Regions from separate parts of the Homo sapiens genome. Here all the other regions are linked to region 4. Evidence: promoter capture Hi-C in human tissues and cell types (Jung and others, 2019). All regions are on one chromosome and are shown on one strand. The core of a region is centred on a gene start or on the middle of the fragment in contact, and the rest is flanking DNA. Distances in the headings are between cores, read along the strand shown.

Region 1 (3,174 bases), core at 1-2,500, 630 kb after region 4:
GCTAGCTGTCTCAGAGCTTAGTTCCCAGCAGACAACTCTTGCTGCCTCGAACCCTGGCACACTAACCACCATCCTGTGACGTTCCCACTCCTCATTCTGCGACAGTGGTTCTTTGCTGGGAGAGATTTTTGTCTCCCAAGGGACATTTGGCAATACCTGGAGATCTTTTTGGTTGTCATCATGGGAGCGGGAATGCTACTAGCAGCTAATGTTTAGTGACTAGGGATGCGACTGAACATCCTGCAATGTAGAGTGCAGTGTCCCCTACAGAGAATTATCCGACCCAAGATGTTGATAATGCCAAGGTTGAGAAACCCTGTTCAGGATGACAAACTGATTGAAAACTCAACAAGGGGACCGGGCGTGGTGGCTCACGCCTAATAATCCCAGCACTTAGGGAGGCCGAGGTGGGTGTATCACTTAAGGTCAGGAGTGCGAGACCAGCCTGGCCAACATGGCAAAACCCCATCTCTACTAAAAATACAAAAAAAAAAAAAAAAAATACGAGTGGCGTAAGCCTGTAATCCCAGCTACTTGGGAGGCTGAAGCATGAGAATCGCCTGAACCCAGAAGGCAGAGGTTGCAGTGAGCTGTGATCAGGCCATTGCATTCCAGCCTGGGCAACAGAGCGAGACTCTTGTCTAGAAAAAAAAAAAACAAACCCATAAAACAAACAAACAAAAAAAACTATGAGGATTGAGTGATTCACATTTCTGAATCGAGAGAGAGAAGGATGGGCAGCAGGCTTGTTGAAGCTGGAAGGCCAGGGAGGTCGCAGACTGAGGAAGACCCTGGTGTGTCCCAGGTACCTCCATGCAACCCTACTAGAGAGGTGGTCTCTGGCTTCCTATGGACAAGCTCTAAGGGACCCAGCTATGGGGCACCAGAGCCCAGCGTTCAGCAGCTGCTCAATGAATGTCTGCCAGGCGAGACTGCACCCAAAGCATTTATTAGGTACATAATTGTGGCAGCACTGGCTGGCCATGGAAGGCAAGGCAGAACACAAGGAGCTGGAGCTGGCGGAAGGAAGTCATTAAGTCAGCCAGTGGCTGGGATGCAGCAAAGCCAGGCAGAAGGTAAGTGCAGACCCACCCCAATAAATGAGGAAAATGAGAAGGGCTGGCTGGCCATGTTAGGATCCAGTTCCAGTGCGACCAGATATGTCACCACCACATCACTTTTAGCTCCTCCCCCCACCCACAGACACCCTGTTTGCCTGTCATATAAAGAAGGTTTTCCCAAAGTGGTTTAGCCAGAACTGGAAGGGCCCCGCCCTGTGAAGGGATAGGAGCCTGACTGTTGCAGCTGCAGTGAGTGGCGGGGAAGCAGCAGCGGCCAGGATGAATCCCAGGTGCTCTGGAGCTGGATGGTGAAGTATGGACATGCTTTATTCGATTTTGCATTGACTTAAAGGTTTAATTATTTTAGGAGTTCTTGTAGACATTCCTGAAAAATGCAGGTAGGCAAAAAGAAGAAAACAAAGATCGCAAATGTGACCCTTTCATTCGGAGAGAACACCAATGGAATTTTGTTGTGCACCCTTCTATGCACGTCTGAATGTTGTGTAGACATTCTGCTTACAACTAGGTGTGGGTGCTGCTGCCGAAGGCTTTATTTGCTGTGCCTGAGGTGGACCAGAGATTTCAGAGAAGACTCCCAGAGCACCCCAAGGAGACAACAGGAGTGCTTGGAGTCAGGATGACTGGGTGGATTTAGGACTATGTGATTCTCAGGAGCCTCTCTGGATTAGCCCCAAATCAAGGATAAAGAGAGGCCTAGCTGGACTCTTCCTCCCAGAGCCCTGCTGGGAAAATGGAGCCCCTTTACAGCCCCCACTTACCCATCAGGCCCTGCTCCTCTCACTCATCTCCAGACTTCTGTCACATGCCCAAGTCCTGCTAACTGCTGTGTAAAACTGGTAAGGTGGGATCCAGAGGACCTTGGGCCCCTAGGGCCCCAGGTCAGGAGACCTGGGCTCCAGGGCCAGTTGAGAGTGATAAAGAGAACAATACCTGCCCACAGGACTTGTTGCAATGAGATAAAGGCAGAAGTCACCAGTTGTGGTCAAATGGGATTTTTTTCCAGAGAAGTCTCACAGAGAGTGGCTTTCAAATTCTTTTTAGCAGCAGAATTGTTGTAAAATACAATCTCATGTGAAACCCTAAAATGTGAGACACTCTGGGTGAAGCAGAGAGAGGTGCTCAACTGCCCAATCCTGTCCTCATTCCTCCCTCTCAGGGAGGCACCTCTGAGAACCCACTTTAAAGAATTTTGCCTTATGCAGATTGAAGAGGCAAGCTGGCTGGAAGAAACTGGGAAGCTCCACTTCCCACCGCCTCTGCCTGGGTGGCAGTCATCTGAGCCTAGGCTAGCCCCTCCCCCTCCAAAGACCCACTGCGGGCTCCCCTGGGGCCAGTCTCCAGGATGGGTGGGGCACCTGAAGCAGCAAGTATTGCTATTTTTCTGGGCTGACCTTTCTTCTAGGCCTGAGGACAAGTGGGTAGGTGGGGCCAGCCCTGTCCCTGTTTCCCCTCAATGGAGTTCTCTTGCTCACAGCCTAAGGAAGAAGCGTGAGTCACTTCCTGCCTCAGTCTGACTGCTGGAGTATTGTTCTCCCAACTGTGGCTGGCGCTACCCAGTGTGGCCCCTACAAGTCTTAGTTCCTTGGCGGAGGGGAAGTCCCCACTTTGGGACAAGGCCAACTGGACTTATCTTCCCGCTCAACTTTGAGGACCCAGCATTGTTCCTCCAGTTTCCAGTTCTTGCAGTGTTTGTAAAGGTGCCCGAATCGTACCTGATCCCATTCACTAAATATTATCTCCATTTTATAGAGGGGTAAATTGAGGAAGTCCCTGAGAAATTAACTTGTCTAAGGTGTCCCAGCAAAAAATAGTGCCCCAGGGATTTGAACCGGTTTGCTGATTGATTTTTCACCAGTTGCCTTAAGAATTATCATGATTTAACCTCTCTGGGCCTCAGTTTCCTCCTCTATAAAATGCAGACAGTGATACATCAAAGGTACTTAAAGGAAAATGTACTGTACCCACCTCATGGGGCATGTGGTGAGGATAAAACGGGTTGACACAGGAAAAGAGCTCTCAATGGTGCCTGGCTCATAGAAAACACTCAGTGGATTTTTTTTTTCCCATTACCCGGGAACCTGTGTTAAGGAGG
Region 2 (3,486 bases), core at 355-2,854, 750 kb after region 4:
TCTCCAGTTCAACCTGTTTCGGGGATCGATAACCATAATTAATTCTGGCCAGAGTTTCGTTTGAGCCTCAGAGGTCAAAGCTGCAGTGAGCAATCTCGCCACTACACTCCAGCCTGGGCGACAGAGTGAGACCCCGTCTCAAAAAAAAAAAAAAAAAAAAAAAAAAAAAAGTTAATTATATCCATTAGCCTGGAACCAACATTAAAGGGTAAGTTTTCTCCTGCTTCATTCAATCCCTTGATAGAGGAGATGCCTACATAATTCATAAACTGTTAATGGACTTTTTTTTTTTTTTTTGAGACGTAGTCTCACTCTGTCGCCTAGGCTGGAGTGCAGTGTCGAGATGTCGGCTCATGCAACCTCTGCCTCCTAGGCTGAAGCGATTCTCCTGCCTCAGCCTCCTGAAAAGCTGGGGGTACAGGCGCGCCACCAGGGCCAGATAATTTTTGTATTTTTAGTTAAGACAAGGTTTTACCATGTTGGCACTCAATTCTCATTATTCTGAGGGCAAGCATTTTAAAAAGACTGATCAGAATTAGTGATCATGAAATGAAGAATCTTACAAAGCCTTAGAACAATCAGTTCCACCAAAAACTACACATTATTTAACGCTGTATCATCAGAAAACTGCATCCACAACTTTTAGAAAATAAAGTTAATATTTGGAAGTCACAAGGTTGGTAAGTGGCAGTGTCACCGTCTGGTCCCGATTTCAAGTCGGACAGTCCCTCCCCAACACCGCCTAGGAAGTTATTAAAACGACCGGAAAAGAATTCCATAATCCGTTTCTTAACTTGCAAAGAAACAAAGCTATCTTTCCAATTCAAACAAAACGTTAACACCGCTGGCCAGATATAAAGAAAAACAACGGGCCGGGCACGGTGGCTCACGCCTGTAATCCCAACACTTTGGGAGGCCGAGGTGGCAGGATTACTTGAAGCCAGGAGTTCGAGACCAGCCTGGCCAACATAGACCGCGTTTCCACAAAAATAAAAAAAAAGAATAAAACAAAGAAAAACAACGATAAATAAACTTAACAGCTTTAAAGAAAAGCCACGACCACAGAAGGTTTACAACGAGTCATCTGCGCCAAGCAGCGGCACCTGAGACGCTGCGGGCGGGGAGGGTGGGGTCCGAGCGCCAGCGCTGACCGCCTGGGTGGAGGCCGCCCCGGGCCCCGGGCCTCGACTACCCTGCCGCGTCCGGGCACCGGCGCTCGGCTCCCACCCGGGCGTCTGAGCCTGCGGGCACCTGCGGCCGCCGGCGGACAGCGCGTCAGGTCTCACCGCCGCGGCCCTCGCACTGGCTCGCCGCCTCCAGACCCTGCCCCTCAGCGCCCCCGGCCTCCCTCGGCGCCGACTGCCGTGACGATCTAGGCCCGGGACCCCGCACGGGTCCCGCACCCCTGAACAGGCCCCGCAGCCGAAACGAGCGTCGCTCCCTCCCGCGTCCCCTCGATTTCCCCGCAACCCGCACCTTCTCCTCATGGCGGACGCTCCAAGCAGCCGTGAGTCCAGGTCCAGACCTACTCCACACGGCCCCGAGAGCAACAACCACCCGCAAACACCGGCGATGTCACTCCGCGTAGCCGCTCCGCGAGCCGTTGAGCCCCGCAAAATTTCAAACCGCGCCACGGGGCGAAGCCTCGTCGCGATTGGCGTCGCGTCCCGTCGCTCCAAGAAAATCCCCGCCCCTCGGGCTGAAGTCGCGGGTGCGCAATCGGGGTGGGGACTCGCGAGCAGGGCCTGGGAAGCGCCGGAGTGGCGGCGGGGGATGACGTCACTGTCTGTGAGTGGCCGGGCGTGGCCTGCGCCTCCCGCTTCCCTGGCTTGGCGGCAGCCTCAAGGGACTCCTCTCCCAAGCCAGCTACCTCATCGGAGCGCCGCCCCGCCTCGCCCCGCGCAGTTTGGATTCGAAGTGCGCGGGCGGGGAGGGAGTTGAGAGCACCGCGGCTACCTGGCTTCCCTGAGTCCCGGCTGCCGGGAACGGGCGCGGGGGTGAATAGGTAAGTTAGCGCCTAGTTTCCCTCGCTCATCCAAGAAGCGAAGCTTGGAATCGATCTTTGGTGGGACTCTTCCCCAGATGTAAGAAGCCATACACTAAAGGGGAAGGGAAGGAACATTGAGTCCTGCTCATGGGCCTGGAACGTTTCAACGCCAGTTATCCCATTTAACCTCCACAATCGCCATTGCAGAGGAAACGCAAAAAGATTTGAATGATTTGCCTAAGTCACGTTATCAAATTAGATGAGTTTCTAAATCGTTACATGAAAAATTTAAAACTCAAAATAGACATTACTTTTGTAGCCTCCTTTCCTCGATGAACATGTTACATCCCTAAATGCTTATATATCACCGTTTTTTCCCAGTGATTCATGGTGGCATGGTGGCATGAATCCTGGTGTGTAGATATCTCGCCCATTCTGCTATTGATATTTAGATGATAATTTAAAAGATAAGGCTGGGCTGAATATCTTCATACATAAATCTTTGTGTATGTATGTATTTATAAATGCATCCTGCATTTTCGTACGGCTGATTCCTAGAGGTGTAATTACTGAATGCTCCCTTTATTAATTTGCCTTCTGCACAAAGCCTCACCGGAAAAGTACCCTCCTTTTGTTACCCTCAGCAGGGCTGAATTCTATTGTACTTCTAAACATCTTTGCTCATTTTGTAGGTAAAATAATAATACTGGCATTTCCTTGTTTGGCACTTGATTATAATTGAAATTGCACATTTTTCGTGTTTATTGGCCAACTGTAACTTAAGTGAATCCTCTTCATATGCCTTTTCCCTAAAGGTAAAGGATGCTTGTTTGCTTCACCTTCAGAACCATATTTTTCTTATTTTCAGAAAAACTTCATTAGTGCTTTCAATGTTCTTTTTACTTTTTTTAATTGAGACGGAGTCTCGCTCTGTCACCCAGGCTGTAGTGCAGTGGCCCAATCTCAGCTCACTGCAACCTCCGCTACCTGGGTTCAAGCAATTCTTGTGCCTCAGCTTCCCGAGTAGCTGGGACTACAGGCACGCACCACCATGCCTGGATACTTTTTTTTTTTGTATTTTTAATAGAGACGGGGTTTTGCCATGTTGGCCAGGCTGGTCTTGAACTCCTGACCTCAGGTGATCCGCCTGCCTCGGCCTCCCAAAGTGTTGGGATTACAGGCGTGAGCCAACGCGCCCGGCTTCCATGTTCTTTTTAACTTGTCAGCAGCATGCCAAACATTCACAGCACCAACACAGTGGGCGACAGGCACCACTTTTTCAATTTCCTTGCACTCTGTGATTAACATTGACACCACTAATAGAGTAGATGGTAGCACTACTTTTAAAATTTACTTGCATTCTTTGTTGATTAAATTAACAGGAGAGCTTTTCAGAAAGCTTCACAAATTTGTGATCTTCATACTTGTTCTTAGCACCAGCATTATGAAGTATCCAAAGAAAAGGCAATTTTTTCTCTCTTGTCCTTTACACTGAGGTG
Region 3 (3,211 bases), core at 28-2,527, 710 kb after region 4:
TGTCAGTGCTAGCTAAGGGTGACCACAGCCCTGTCACAAGGGCTGCTGCAGCCTGCCTGGACAAAGCAGTGGAATATGGGCTTATCCAACCCAACCAAGATGGAGAGTGAGGGGGTTGTCCCTGGGCCCAAGGCTCATGCACACGCTACCTATTGTGGCACGGAGAGTAAGGACGGAAGCAGCTTTGGCTGGTGGTGGCTGGCATGCCCAATACTCTTGCCCATCCTCGCTTGCTGCCCTAGGATGTCCTCTGTTCTGAGTCAGCGGCCACGTTCAGTCACACAGCCCTGCTTGGCCAGCACTGCCTGCAGCCTCACTCAGAGGGGCCCTTTTTCTGTACTACTGTAGTCAGCTGGGAATGGGGAAGGTGCATCCCAACACAGCCTGTGGATCCTGGGGCATCTGGAAGGGCGCACACATCAGCAGCCTCACCAGCTGTGAGCCTGCTATCAGGCCTGCCCCTCCAATAAAAGTGTGTAGAACTCCACTGTGTGCCCTGTCCTTGGGCAGGGAGGGCTGCTGTGAGTGGGAGTCTCTGAGTGGGTGAGTGTGGGTGAGTATGGGTGTGAGCTGGGCGTGGGTGAGTGTGCAACGGAGCTTCACAGTGGCAGACCCACCTCCATGGAAGGAATCCAATGGATTCCCCAACCAGGGCCCACTGAGTTGCTTCTTAATCCTACTGGAGGGACAAAGGGTAAGCCTAGGAAGCTAATCAATAAGAAACTCACCAGGTGCGGTGCCTCAAGCTTGTAATCCCAGCGCTTTGGGAGGCTGAGGCAGGTGGATCACTTGAAGTCAGGGGTTCGAGACCAGCCTGGGCAACAAGCAAAACTCTTTCTCTATAAAAATACCAAAAAAAAAAAAAAAAAAAAAAAAAGAGCAGAGTGTGGCGGCATGCACCTGTAATCCCAGCTACTCGGTAGGCGAAGGTTGCAGTGAGCCCAGAGCGCAGCCTCCCAAAGTGTCGCCTGGGCGACACAGCGAGACCCTATCTCAAAAAATATTAAACTATCCCAAGAAATAAGTCGTTTAGGGTAGAGACTCCCATATGCTGGGCCTTCAGTACGTTTGTCTTTATATTGGGAGTCCTCTGTGGCCTCCGCTGAGGGCGCTGGGGCGGGGGTTGGGGTTGGTGGCCAGCTGAGCCTGGTTGAAGGGCGGCTTGGGCCCCGCCCACCACCCCAGCACGTTCGAGGAGGGCTAAGCCCAGCGTGAGGCTCGTTGGCTCGACAGAGGCACGTGACGGGTCCTGAGCCAATCCGTGGAAGGTAAAAGCTGCTTCCTGTTGGGGCATGAGTCCGGCGCGTGTCGGGTTTTGAGCTGCCGCGGTCCCGGGACTGAGGTGGGTGGCGGGGTCCGCCCGTCTTGGGCGTCACTCCTCGCCAAACCTTTAGCTCAAGTCTTAATGAATGTCCTCTCTGTGGTTCTAATCCGAGCTCCAGCCCCACGGGTTCCTGCAGGGGCGGGACCACCTGGCCCAACCTCTGCCTTGGTCCAACGCCCCCGGTTTCCTCCAGGGCCTTGGTCCAACGCCCCTCGGAGGTTTCAGCCCATTTCACAGACCGGGCCGCAGGGCCCCGGCGTAGGCCTCGGGACCGGAGAGGCCCTCAAGGGGAGTTGAACAGGGCTGCGGCCGCCGCGCCCCGGGCGGCGACGTCACCGCCCTTGCTGGTGATTGGCCGCCTCGCGCCGCGCGCCCTTCAAACCTTTTCTCCCCGTGGCTGTCGGCGCCCGCTGGGCGGGAGGCCTTTCCGGAGGCGGCCGCTCTGCGCCTCGGCGTTTCCTCCAAGGCTGCCCACCAGAAGGACCTGCCCGAGAGGGTAGAGGGCATAGGGTCAAGATCAAGGTCAGAGGCCCCCTTGGGTTGGGAGAGGACACGGAAGGGGTTAGGAGCCCAGGAACTGGGGTCTCAGGAGAGACCCAGGATCTGACTTAAGAGGCCTGAAAATGCCCATGCAATTCTGCTTCAGCCCGGGTGCAGCGGCTCACGCCTGTAATCCCAACGCTTTGGGAGGCCGAGGCGGGCGGATCACTCGAGCCCAGGAATTTGAGACCAGCCTGGGCAGCATAGCGAGACCCCTGTCTCTATTATATTAAAAAAAAAAAAAAACAAACCCGCTCCAGCCGAATCTGCTTGAAGTTGGCGTTGCTGTTGTAACCACCAGACTGTTTGTCTCCCCATTTAACGGTTAGCTCCTTGGGAGCAGACAGCTGTCCTCACTGGCAGAGGAGGAGCGCTCAGTAAATGCTCGCTGGACGAATAAATGGCTAGATAAGGTACAGTTGAAATTCTGTCTGTATAAGTTTCTCAAAACCAGTAAGATGTCCAGGGATAATTTTTTTGTCAACACTAAATACTGGATTCAGTAAGCTAATACTGTGTGTTTATCATGGCATGTACTCGCACCAAACCCTTTATTTGCATTTATTACAATTCTGTGAGGAAGGTTCAAACAGCACCGCCCCCACCTCCCTTTGTAAACTGAAGAAACGCAGTTGGACTCAGGTGGATTGGCTGCGGTCCCAAGGCCCCGCTGAGTTGCAGAGGCACTGCCTCCCAAACGCTCTTCTGCGTTCCGCTGTGGGGAGAGGGGCAGAGCACTGTGTGTGGAGTTGGTGGGACCTGATTTCAGCGCTCTGCCCCTCTCTGTCTGGCTGTATGAGTGTGTAAGGGTTACTTTGTCTCAGAATCTCCTCTGTAAAACGACCATTTTGGTTCCCAAGATTACATGGGATAAAGTGCCAGATGCTGGGAAGCTGCGGGACGGGGTGGGGGTGTCGGGGGCGCTCGGATCCTAGTCCAATGCCTAAAGGACAGGCCACTTCGTACCCACTTTGTGGCACGCTGAGCTTGAGCCAAAAGGGAGGACAGGGAAAGTGCCTCTAAATATTTGAGCATCTTTGTAAATCCGGTAGGGCATTAGTCAGGGCGCCTGCTCAGCGAACCTTCGTGGCACGGACTCTGCCTTTGTGGTCGGGAGAATGATAGTTTCTCCATTTTACAGATAAGGCAGCTCCAGCCCCTGGAAGGCCAGAGACTTGCCAGTGTCCCACTAGCGGGCTCTTCGCAAGAATCCCCCCGGGCCCGCCGCAGCCAGGCGGCGGCCGGCAGAGGGCGCTGCTCGGGCATGGCGGAGGAGCGGCCGGGGGCCTGGTTCGGCTTCGGTTTCTGCGGCTTCGGGCAGGAGCTGGGCTCCGGACGCGGGCGCCA
Region 4 (3,275 bases), core at 1-2,500:
AGGCTGGACTGCAATGGTGCGATCTCGGCAGTGCCTGGTGGCACATGCCTGTAGTTCCAGATACTTGGGATGCTGAGGTGAAAGAATCCCTTGAGCCTGGGAGGTCAAGGCTTCAGGGAGACATGTATGCACCACTGCACTCCTGCCTGGGTGACAGAGTGAGAACCTGTTTCAAAATAAAATAGGCCGTGGCTGGGCGCAGTGGCTCACACCTGTAATCCCAGCACTTTGGGAAGCCGAGGTGGGTGGATCACCTGAGGTCAGGAGTTCAAGACCAGCCAGACCAACATGGTGAAACCCTGTCTCTACCAAAAATACAAAATTAGCTGGCTGTGGTGGCACATTCCTATAATCCCAGCTACTTGGGAGGCTGAGGCCAGAGAATCGCTTGAACCTGGGAGGTAGAGGTTGCAGTGAGCCAAGATAGCGCCATTGCACTCCAGCCTGGGTGACAGAGTGATAAATAAATAAATAGGCCAGGTGCAGTGGCTCAGGCCTGTAATCCCAGCACTTTGGGAAGCCGAGAGGGGAGGGTCACCGGAGGTCAGGAGTTCAAGACCGGCCTGGCCAATGTGGTGAAACCCTGCCTCTACTAAAAATACAAAAATTAGCCGGGCCTGGTGGCGGGTGCCTGTAATTCCAGCTGCTTGGGAGGCTGAGGCATGAGAATCACTTGAACCCAGGAGGTGGAGGTTGCAGTGAGCCAAGATCGCGCCACTGCCCTCTAGCCTGGGCAACAGAGTGAGACTCTGTCTCAAAAAAATAAAAATAAATAAATAAGCTGTGCATGTTGGTTCATGCCTGTAATCCCAGCACTTTGGGAGGCCAAGGCAAAGGGATCACCCGATGTCAGGAGTTCAAGACCAGCCTGGCCAACATGGTGAAACACCATCTCTACTAAAAATACAAAAATTACCCGGGCATGGTGGTGCCTGCCTGTAACCCCAGCTGCCCAGGAGGCTGAGGCGGGAGAACCGCTTGAACCCAGGAGGCGGAGGTTACAGTGAACCAAGATCACTGCCACTGCACTCCAGCCTGGGTGACAGAGTGAGACTCCATCTCAAAAAAAAAAATAAATAAATAAATACAATGACAATCTCTGGAGGTGGGTTACCATCATGTGTTTTCATCTTTTATGACTATTTCAGGTCAGCTCTATGGCTCTTCCACATGATTCAAACGAAACTTCCTATTTGCTGCCTCCCAACAATGAGGACTGGGGCAGGCAAACCATTCCTGACTTTGTTTATGGGCAGAAGGATCTCATGGCAGAAGGGATTCAGTGGCCAAGGAATGCACCTGGCATCCCAGATGCTCTGCCACAATCTCCCTTTGATGCTGCACTCTGCTCTGCCTGGAAGCAGCGGGTGGAGCTGGGGCTGTTTCGCTACCGTCTACGGGAGCTACAGACCCAAATCCTCCCTGGTGCTGTGGGTTTCGTGGCTCAGCTGAATGTGGAGCGTGGTGTGCAGAGGAGGCCCCCGCAGACCATCAAGAGTGTGAGGCAGGCATTTGACCCTGTACAGTTCAACTTCAACAAGATCCGGCCCGGAGAAGTCCTCTTCCGTTTGCACCGGGAGCCTGATCTCCCTGGGACTCTGCTGCAAGAAGACATCCTGGTGGTGATCAACGTCAGCCCCCTGGAGTGGGGCCACGTGCTGCTGGTGCCTGAGCCTGCCCGCCAGCTCCCCCAGCGCCTGCTGCCGGGTGCACTGAGGGCAGGGATTGAGGCTGTGCTGCTGAGCTTACACCCGGGCTTCCGTGTCGGCTTCAACAGCCTGGGAGGCTTGGCCTCGGTGAACCACCTCCACCTGCATGGCTATTACCTGGCCCACAGACTGCCCGTGGAGCAGGCGCCAAGCGAGCCCCTGGACCCTGGAGGCCATTTGCATCTGCTCCAGGACCTCCCAGCTCCTGGCTTCCTCTTTTACACTCGTGGGCCAGGGCCTGACTTGGAGTCCTTGATAAGCAGGGTATGTCGGGCCACTGATTATCTGACTGACCATGAGATTGCTCATAACTTGTTTGTCACCCGGGGAGCTCCGCCGGGAAAGACATCACCTTCCTCAGCCCTCACAGGGGTCCGAGTAATTCTGTGGGCCCGGAAGTCCAGCTTTGGGATAAAGGACGGTGAAGCTTTCAATGTTGCCCTCTGTGAGCTGGCTGGGCACCTCCCTGTCAAAACATCCCAGGACTTCAGCAGCCTGACAGAGGCAGCTGCTGTGGCCCTCATTCAGGACTGTCGGCTGCCCCCATCCCAGGCAGAAGACGTACAGGCAGCACTGGTGGCCCTGATGTCCCAGGAAGAGCAATAATACTTCTGGATGTATTTATGTTCTTTTTTTCTTTTCTTTTGAGATAGGGTCTCACTCTGTCCCCAGGCTAGAGTGTAGTGGTATGATCCTGGCTCACTGTAGCCTCCACCTCTGGGGCTGAAGTGATCCTCCCACCTCAGCCTCTTGAGTAGCTGAGACTATAGGCGTGCACCACCACACACCTGGCTTTTTTTTTTTTTTTTTTTTTTTTTAACGATTAGGTGATTTTGTATTTTTTTATATAGACAGCGTTTCACCATGTTGCCCAGGCTGGTCTTGAACTCTTGGGCTGAAGCAGTCCTCCCACCTCGGCCTCCCAAAGTACTGAGATGACAGGAGTGAGCCCCTGGATTCTTTTCTGTTTCTTTTTTTTTTTTTTTTTTTTTTTTTTTTTTTGAGATAGTCTCGCTCTGTCACCTAGGTTGGGGTGCACTGGTACAATCTCGGCTCACTGCAACCTCCACCTCTAGGGTTCGAGTGATCCTCCTGGCTCAGCCTCCCGAGTAGCTGGGACTATACAGGCTCCTGCCACCAAACCCGGCTAATTTTTTTGTATTTTTAAAAGAGAAGGGGTTTCACCACATTGGCTAGGCTGGTCTTGAACTCCTGACTTTAGGTGATCCGCCCGCCTCGGCCTCCCAAAGTGCTGGGATTACAGGCGTGAGCCACCACACCCAGCCAGGATGTATTCATTTTCTACCTGATGAGTCCCTTTCCAGAGCACTGTCCATCATAGTCCTTTGGACATTTATTTTCATGGCTGCCTTCTCACCTGTCTCAGCCTAAGAAGAAGGATGAAGAAAGCTGATAATGATCTCTTAAAGGGGAGAAAGATAATGGTCTCTTTAAAGGGGAGCTGATAGTGGTCTCTTTAAAGGGGAGAAAATCTGGAATAATTCTACTGAGTAAGACATCATGAATGTATCTGCTACCTCTCCCCGTTCTTGTTCAAGCCCCAGG

What was found. The method cuts DNA at HindIII sites, captures the fragments that hold promoters and counts their contacts. A contact is called where the count stands out against the background at its distance.
Region 1: the fragment with the promoter of FURIN here is called in contact with a fragment that was not itself captured in region 4 in 1 of the 25 tissues and cell types used here (spleen).
Region 2: a contact is called between the fragment with the promoter of PRC1 here and a fragment that was not itself captured in region 4, in 2 of the 25 tissues and cell types used here (aorta and spleen).
Region 3: the fragment with the promoter of RCCD1 here is called in contact with a fragment that was not itself captured in region 4 in 1 of the 25 tissues and cell types used here (spleen).

The regions. Positions count from the first base shown.
Region 1 is chr15:90,867,338-90,870,511 of GRCh38, forward strand. FURIN (furin, paired basic amino acid cleaving enzyme) reads left to right here and starts at 1,251. Exons shown (of 16, transcript NM_002569.4): 1 at 1,251-1,374. RefSeq lists enhancers at 1,783-2,982, 2,225-2,274, 2,342-2,636, 2,375-2,484, 2,422-2,716. The HindIII fragment of the contact is 14,305 bases long and covers 1-3,174 here.
Region 2 is chr15:90,992,931-90,996,416 of GRCh38, forward strand. It overlaps PRC1 (protein regulator of cytokinesis 1), which reads right to left and starts at 1,605. Exons shown (of 15, transcript NM_003981.4): 1 at 1,477-1,605. The coding sequence starts at 1,487. LOC124903556 (a long non-coding RNA gene) reads left to right here and starts at 1,849. Exons shown (of 2, transcript XR_007064759.1): 1 at 1,849-2,005. RefSeq lists enhancers at 911-1,778, 1,779-2,645 and a silencer at 1,142-1,361. The HindIII fragment of the contact is 8,571 bases long and covers 1-3,486 here.
Region 3 is chr15:90,953,607-90,956,817 of GRCh38, forward strand. RCCD1 (RCC1 domain containing 1) reads left to right here and starts at 1,278. Exons shown (of 8, transcript NM_001017919.2): 1 at 1,278-1,342; 2 at 3,006-3,211. The coding sequence starts at 3,129. UNC45A (unc-45 myosin chaperone A) reads left to right here. Exons shown (of 20, transcript NM_018671.5): 20 at 1-487. The coding sequence ends at 110. It overlaps RCCD1-AS1 (RCCD1 and UNC45A antisense RNA 1), which reads right to left and starts at 887. Exons shown (of 2, transcript NR_170325.1): 1 at 729-887. RefSeq lists enhancers at 1-135, 960-1,514, 1,315-1,424 and silencers at 1,645-1,774, 3,005-3,211. The HindIII fragment of the contact is 8,803 bases long and covers 1-3,211 here.
Region 4 is chr15:90,239,752-90,243,026 of GRCh38, forward strand. GDPGP1 (GDP-D-glucose phosphorylase 1) reads left to right here. Exons shown (of 4, transcript NM_001013657.3): 4 at 1,149-3,275. The coding sequence starts at 1,158. The coding sequence ends at 2,315. It also overlaps a transcript of CIB1 not described here. Among named protein-coding and RNA genes, the nearest start is that of GDPGP1, 7.2 kb to the left of the region's middle. The HindIII fragment of the contact is 7,306 bases long and covers 1-3,275 here.